Linked DNA regions of Homo sapiens: region 2 is linked to region 1. Evidence: promoter capture Hi-C in human tissues and cell types (Jung and others, 2019). All regions are on one chromosome and are shown on one strand. The core of a region is centred on a gene start or on the middle of the fragment in contact, and the rest is flanking DNA. Distances in the headings are between cores, read along the strand shown. Region 1 holds the start of EPHA6 (EPH receptor A6). Region 2 has its middle 55 kb from the start of EPHA6.

What was found. Contacts are between HindIII fragments. The study calls those that stand out against the background at their distance.
Region 2: a fragment that was not itself captured here is called in contact with the fragment with the promoter of EPHA6 in region 1 in 1 of the 25 tissues and cell types used here (H1 embryonic stem cells).

The regions. Positions count from the first base shown.
Region 1 is chr3:96,813,081-96,816,623 of GRCh38, reverse strand. It overlaps EPHA6 (EPH receptor A6), which reads right to left and starts at 2,030. Exons shown (of 18, transcript NM_001080448.3): 1 at 1,616-2,030. The coding sequence starts at 2,000. It overlaps LOC124909397 (a long non-coding RNA gene), which reads left to right and starts at 2,217. Exons shown (of 2, transcript XR_007095974.1): 1 at 2,217-2,589; 2 at 3,514-3,543. RefSeq lists silencers at 2,945-3,064, 3,125-3,194. The HindIII fragment of the contact is 14,633 bases long and covers 1-3,543 here.
Region 2 is chr3:96,757,334-96,761,011 of GRCh38, reverse strand. No RefSeq gene overlaps it. Among named protein-coding and RNA genes, the nearest start is that of EPHA6, 55 kb to the left of the region's middle. The HindIII fragment of the contact is 7,205 bases long and covers 1-3,678 here.

The DNA of each region.
Region 1 (3,543 bases), core at 781-3,280:
CTAGTACACTTGACTCTCAAAGTATTCATCTCTAGTATCCTTACTTACTATTATAAAGTACAGTATCAATGTCTGACTTTCCAATTATTAAAAATTGTTTTGTCATAATAAAAAAGGGTAATCGTTACACGTTTTTTAACAATCTTCTACCTTCACAGAAATGAAGTTAACTACCTATTCAATATTTTATACCCACAGTCTTTGAAAATAAATGAGGGATGTAGTGTGATGGTATATACCACCACAGCAAAACAGGACACTGTAACTGATATCTATTATGTGATCTATCTTCAAAGCCATGAAGGTTATGTATGGTTTCCAAATTCACCTACACATTTGTGATTGCATTCTGTCAGTTTAAAATAACTGTAATAATTAGGAAAATATGCCAAAGTACCACTGTATAAATGAGAACAATTTAATAATTATATTTTATTCTGATTCTGAACATTTCTAAGTAAAATGGCCATATATGTTGATGACAAAGAAGAATGCTGTGTTGTTTATCTTCTCCCTTAACCTTCTCCTCACACAAAAAGTGAACACTTTCAAGCCATCTGACCTCCATTTTTATACCTGCAAATTACTTCGAGACTCTGAAACATATGCCTTATGTGTTAAATGATAACTATAACTGACTACCACACATAATATTTGAAGGGACATATCGGTTGGTCATTACAGCACGAGTGAGAGAATATCTAGCCAGATACATGCTGGGAAACTTTTATGGTTGTTTCATGCTTAGTCTGAAAGGACTTAGAATATGCAGGTGGTACTTTTTATAGATCTTTATGCACAGCAGAAATACAAGGAGATATATTTCATGAAGATTGTATGAATAGAAAAAGGGAAAATGCTCAAATATTCCAAGGGCTTTCCATCACTTTTTAACCACTATTTACCTTCACTTTACCACTTTACCCACCGAAACAAAGTCCTCCAAGCAATCTGTCAGTGACTTGACTTCATGAATAGGGTATTCACAACTTGGAAATTCACCCTAAACCCTTTTCTACTCCCTGCCCGCAAGAATATGAAACCCCTACACAGATCTGGAGCATCTGGTCTAGGAAGAATTTCGAGTAAGTCTACTTCGGTGGCCTGGATGGTAGATGAAGCATGGGGACTGAGGCTGGGCGAGGGCGGCAGTCACCGGAGGGGTGGGGAAAGACTGATAACTGGTCACGGGGTACAGCGGGAGCACCCTGCCTTTCAAGAAGGCATGTGGGAGAACCACACGTTCCCCTGAGAAGAGCGACCACCAAAGAGCCAGAAGTCTCCATTAAGTCTGTGCCACGGAGCCTGACTTCCAGTGGAGACAGCGCAGCGGGGAGCGGTCCCACGGCCGCTAGCGGTGGGACCCAACTGCAGCTGATGCTCACGCTACCGTTTAAAGACATTTAGAAACACAACGGATCCTAGCCTGTGGAGTCACCGTCCCGGGCGGTGTAAACAGGGCGCTAGGGTAAGGGGACATCCTCGATCCCCTCGTGTGGCGAGCCAGGAGACTCTGACCCCTGTACAAAGTTACCTGCAGGAGGCAACCAGTACCCTGGTTCTCCAAGCACCCTCCTCCTCCCACCCACTCCCGCTCCTCCGCCCCGTCCCTTACCTTGGTTGTTGGAGACGTGACTGCAGTCGCCTGGCCACGCTGTCAGCAGAGGCAAGAAGAAACCAAATTGCAAAAGAAATTCCCGGACTTCGCAGCCCCCCATGGTTCTCCTAGGCTCTCTTTTCCTCTCCCTTAAAGAGAAGTGGCGGCAGCGCAGGCAGGTGTTCTGGGTAGGATGGGGGTCCTTGTCCACGTCTTCTTCCTCCTCCTCCTCTTCCTCCTCCACCCGGCCCGCAGGGGGTGTCCCGGGGCGCCCCCTGCGCGAGGTCCCGGGAACAGGGCACGAGGGTCCAGGCTGCCCAGTTGCAGGTGCAGCTGCTTCGGAGGAGGACGCTGCCTGCGGCGCCGGGGAGCTCCTCGCGGCTGGAGGCGAGGGGAATTGCATCCACCACAGTGTCCCGCTTGCGCGAGGACTATTCACTTGGGCCGGAGAGAGCGCGCGCGCGCAAGAGCGAGCTCGGGCTGTGGTTTGGGGGAGGGGAGCGAGGGGGCGGGGAGCGCCTCACCGCGAGGACGGGGGCGGGGACGGACTGCCAGGTGGGGCGGGCAGTTGGGGCGGCCCGAGGACCTCTCCCGACTCAAGTGGGCACTTGCGGAGCCAAAAGCAGGGGAGGCGCTGCAGCTGTGAAGAGGCGTGGGGGCCGCGGGAACTTTCCTCTGGCCGGTGCGATGAAAGCCGGGCGGACGAGGTGGCTCAACGGGGCTGAGAGTGGTTCGGCCGAGGCGCGGGCTGAGCCCTCAGCACCTGGCCTGAGCGGCGTGGGCAGCAGCCTGCACCGCGGACACCTCCAACTCTGCCGCGTCTGCGCCGCACTCTGGCCGTGGCAGCGATTTTCCGGGCATCTCTGAGGCCGCCCTTAGTCCCACAAGCACTTAGCCGCCCATTTCAGAGCAGCGGCGCCGACCGTTTTAAGAGGAGTCAGTTCCCGACACCGCCTCCCACTTACTTCTCCACATTTCCACCGCTGGAGGGGGTGAGTGCCGTGGACAGGCGCTCCCGTCCGGGGACAGCTCAGCGGCGGCAGTCAGCCCGACCCTCCTCCGCGCGGGTCGCCCAAACTTGACCAGCAGAGCGAGCGGCTCAGCGCAGTAGCCGCCTTCGCGGCTTCCAGTTGTAGAAAAGCAAAGCGCCGGGAGGAAGCAGCAGAGGGGGGGTTACATGAGGCTGGAAAGTGGCGGGTGTACGGCGCCCGGGATCGCCGAGGTCCTTGCGTCGCCTTGCGGAGGTGACTTCGCGGTGGAGGTCACGAGCATCGTCGCAGCCTTGACGCTGGGATTCAGGGGTCCCCGAGCGTCCACGGCGTGGTGGCGTCGGGCCGCGCTCTCCTAGCAGTCCAAGGGCCGAGTGGCGCGTGGCCACATCCACAGCAGCGCAGGGGCGCCGTGGGCTGACGGCTCTCCCCGCGCGAGCCGCCCCCTCGCGGCACCCACTCCCTCCCCGCGCTCGGGTCTCCCGGAAGCCGAGGCGCGGGCCACTTGGTGGGACTCCGCGGCCCCCGCCCCAGGGCCGGGGCAACGCGGCGTGCTGACTGGGAGGACCCTCGGCGTCCGCGGTCTCCACCACCTCGCCCCGCGGCGGAGGCGGGCGCCCAGGGCAGGGACGGAGCCCGGAGCGCTGCAGAGCCCGGCCAAGCCCAGCCTTCTCCCGGCCTGGCAGCCGCGGCTCGGATGCCGCCAGTTCGGCGCTAGAGGGGGTTAGTCGACAACAAAAATGCCTGCACCGCTCGCAGGTGGAGGCGGCTCATCAGGCCAGGAACCGAAAGGAGGGAGGGATGCTGTCAGGCTAAACTTAACGCCTTGGTTAAGGGCGCGTCAAGGAAACCGTATCGCTTGGGTGGGGATTTCCGTGATACTTTATTTGTTACTAGTATTTCCAACATCATTTTTCTTTCTTGAAGGGACTTCGGCTATCACAGTCGAGGGAGGTT
Region 2 (3,678 bases), core at 689-3,188, 56 kb after region 1:
AGGACAACTCCAAATAGAGGCTTAGAGGTCTTAAGTGGATTCAAAGCTTTTGTGGTTGGCAATTGGATGAAAAAGTTAAGTTATTACCTAAAGACCTGGAATCAATAGAAAGGAGTGTCTAGGTTAAGATAAGGGGTTGTGGAGACCAAAGTTCTTATTATTTTGATGAAGTCTCATAGATGGTCACCCCCAGGGGCAATAGATAGCAAATGTTTCCTATTAAGACTTTAAAATGTGCTAGACTCTCAGCCAATCTTTTCAGGATCAGAAAGAGACCTGGAAAGGAAAGGGATTCTGTAGAATGTAAATTTCCCCCACAAGAGTCAACTTTGCAGAATCATTTTAAAATATGTCAAAGAAACATATTTTGTGGTAAAATATTTTGAATTCCTTAAGGGCCCTGCTGTCTGTCATTTGATGCTATTCTATAGCCAGGTTGGAATTTAGTATCTTATTGCTACAAAGAGTCTGTTCTACCAGTCGTAGGATCTCTGTTTTAAAGTTAATGCTGGTTAGTTATGCGCCCAAACTCCCAAAGGGAGGAGAGTTTATGAGCATGTCTGATACCTCCTTCACCTCATGGTCAGAAGTGCTTTCTCAGGTTTAGTTGGGCTCCCTTGGCTGATAAGAGGGTCCATTTAGTGAATTGAGGGTTTAGAATTTTATTTTTGCTTTACAGAGATTTTACTTCCCAGCACAGAGAAAGATCTGGCATCACAAGGATAGTTTTAAAATAAGTGATACTATGAAAATGTTAAAAATAAGCAATACTATGAATATATTATTTTTTCATTGCTTCAAGGACTGTCAGTTTTGGGGCACATTGTTAATGAGCAAATGTTAAATCTACCCTTTTTTTTTTTTTTTTTTGAGACAGAGTCTCGCTCTGTCGCCCAGGCTGGAGTGCAGTGGCGCGATCTTGGCTCACTGCAAGCTCCGCCTCCCAGGTTCACACCATTCTCCTGCCTCAGCCTCCGGAGTAGCTGGGACTACAGGCGCCTGCCACCATGCCCGGCTAATTTTTTTGTATTTTTAGTACAGACGGGGTTTCACCACGTTAGCCAGGATAAATCTACTTTTAAAAGGACATGATACTAAAATATTACTCAGACCTAGTAATGTGAATAATAAATAATAATTCAGAGGTTACACCTTAAATAAAATATAAAGCAGAATTGTAAACAATTTGATATTTTGTACTTCGTTTTAGGAAAATTGGGGGAAAATTTTCAAAATTGGTATTTCACATCTCCCATGCAACGATACTTCTTTTTGTTGGCTTCTTAAACTAAAAATCAAGATTGTGATAAGAAATGTCCTATTAAACAAATTTTGTATATTGTATTTGCATCTGGACATGGAGTGATATTGCTTACCATGAGGTATCACTTATATCATTTCAACTGAAATCAGAGTGTGAATAATATAAGTACAGTAAACTAGCTGATCAAATTCAAAATTTCATTTAAAATGAAACAAAATACTTATCCATTTACCTTTCAGTAAGATATAGTTTGGTTAAGAAGAAAAATGTGTGAGAGAGTGAGAGAGAGCTAATTTAGGTACATCAAAATTCCTGAGATTTAAAAACCTCTTTTTGAACGATTCACCTTCTTACAGCTTAGTATTGCCCTTCTACTTGTCAGTTTAGAATTAGCTGTCAAATTTTTCTGGTTATATGCCAGTCTTTCTTTTCATTTTTAAACAGTTATATTTTAAGTGAAATGTGGAGTAAAAAATGGCTTAGACAAATCTGCACATGAGCTCTTTGCTCTGTCACTAATTAGACAGATGACTTATAGAGTTTTATTGTTTTCTGAGTTTTATTTTCTTTAAAGTGGAAGTGACAAAATCTGCTCTATAACCTGGTTGTTGATCAAATTTAATGAGTTAATAGATATAGCACATAGCACAGACTAGGTGCTCAATAAGTACATTTCCCTCTATCGAACTATCCCTTTTAAGTAAGAAAATGCAATATTCTTATTTATCAATTTTAAAATTAATTTAAGACAATAAATATATGTTACATATCATAGTGAATAAATATTACAACAAATTAATGACTGATGGTACTATCATTTCTAAATTTAATAAATTTGTAACTGTCTTAACATGTTTTCTAAGCACTAAAAAAAAAACACTTTTTATATGTATTACAATGTTCATATCAGATGCCACTAGAGGGACTTGTATTATCAAAAGTGTCTTTCAGAAGCATCAATTGAAAATGTAGAGGAAAATTTAGTAAAGTGGAAATGCCAGATAGTGATTTCTATATTTAAGATTTCAACATGTTATGAAAAATGAAACTATTTTCTGCATTAATTCATTTCACTTTTAAATACTTTATTTCAGAATAAATAATATTTTCTGTATTATTGAGTAAAATATTTTTCACTTAATTTAAGCCATTTAAAATAATGATTTTTTGGACATGACACCAAAAGCACAAGCAACAAAACTAAAACCAATGAAACTATATCAAACTAAAAATTTTCTGCCCAATAAAAGAAACAACTTAAGAAAATGAAAAGGCAGTCTATGGAATGGGATGAAATATTTTCAAATAATTTATCTCATAAAGGTTCATCAAAATATGTAGGAAACTCATACAACTCAACAGCAAATACCTAAAAAACCCAATTAAATAATGTGCAAATGACTCCAAAAGAAATTTTTCTAATGAAAACATACAGAGGACCAGTAGGCATATGAAAAGCTACTCAACATCACTAATTATCATTGAAGTACAAATTAAAATCACAATGAGATATCAGCTGACATATGTAAGGATGGCTATTATCAGTGCAATGAAAAATAAGTGTTGGTGAGGATGAGGAGAAAAGGGAACGCTTATACATGTTGGTGGGAATGTAAATTAATACAGCCATTATGGAAAGTATCATGGAGGTCCTTCAAAAAACTAAAAATAGAAACACCATATATATGATCTAAGCAATCCCACTATGGGGTACATATCAAAAGGATATGAAATCAGTATGTTAAGAGATGATTTCACTCCCATGTTCATTGCAGCATTATTCACAGTGGCCAAGGTGTGGAATCAATCTAAGTGTTCATCAGTGGATAAGTGGATAAAGAAAAAATGGTATATACACACAATGGAATATTCTGCAGCCTTCAAAAAGAAGAAAATCCTACCACTTGGGATTATATGAATGAAGCTGGAAGATGTTATGCTAAGTGAAAAAAGCCAGACACAGAAAGACAAATACCACCTGAAATCACTTATATGTGGAGTCTAAAAAAGTCATCTTAATAGAAACAGAGAGTAGAAGGGTGAATATAAGGGGCTGGGGGTTTTGGGTTGGAGGTGGGGGTGGTAGAATGGGAAGATGTTATTCAAAGGGAACAAACTTTTGGTCATAAAATAAGTTCTGGAGACCTAATATATAGCATGGTGCCTTTAGTTAATAATGTGTACTTGGAATTTACAAAGATAATAGATGTCAAGTATTCTCATCATACACACATGGAGTTAACAATGTGAGGTGAAGGATGTGTTAATTGGCTTTCTGGTGGTAATCATTTCATAATGTATATACATTTCAAAACATCACATTTTACACCTTAAATTTATATAATTATTTGTTAATTATACCTCTAAAAAGCTGGAAAAGATAATGTATTAAGAAACAATATTTCAATAGTTTG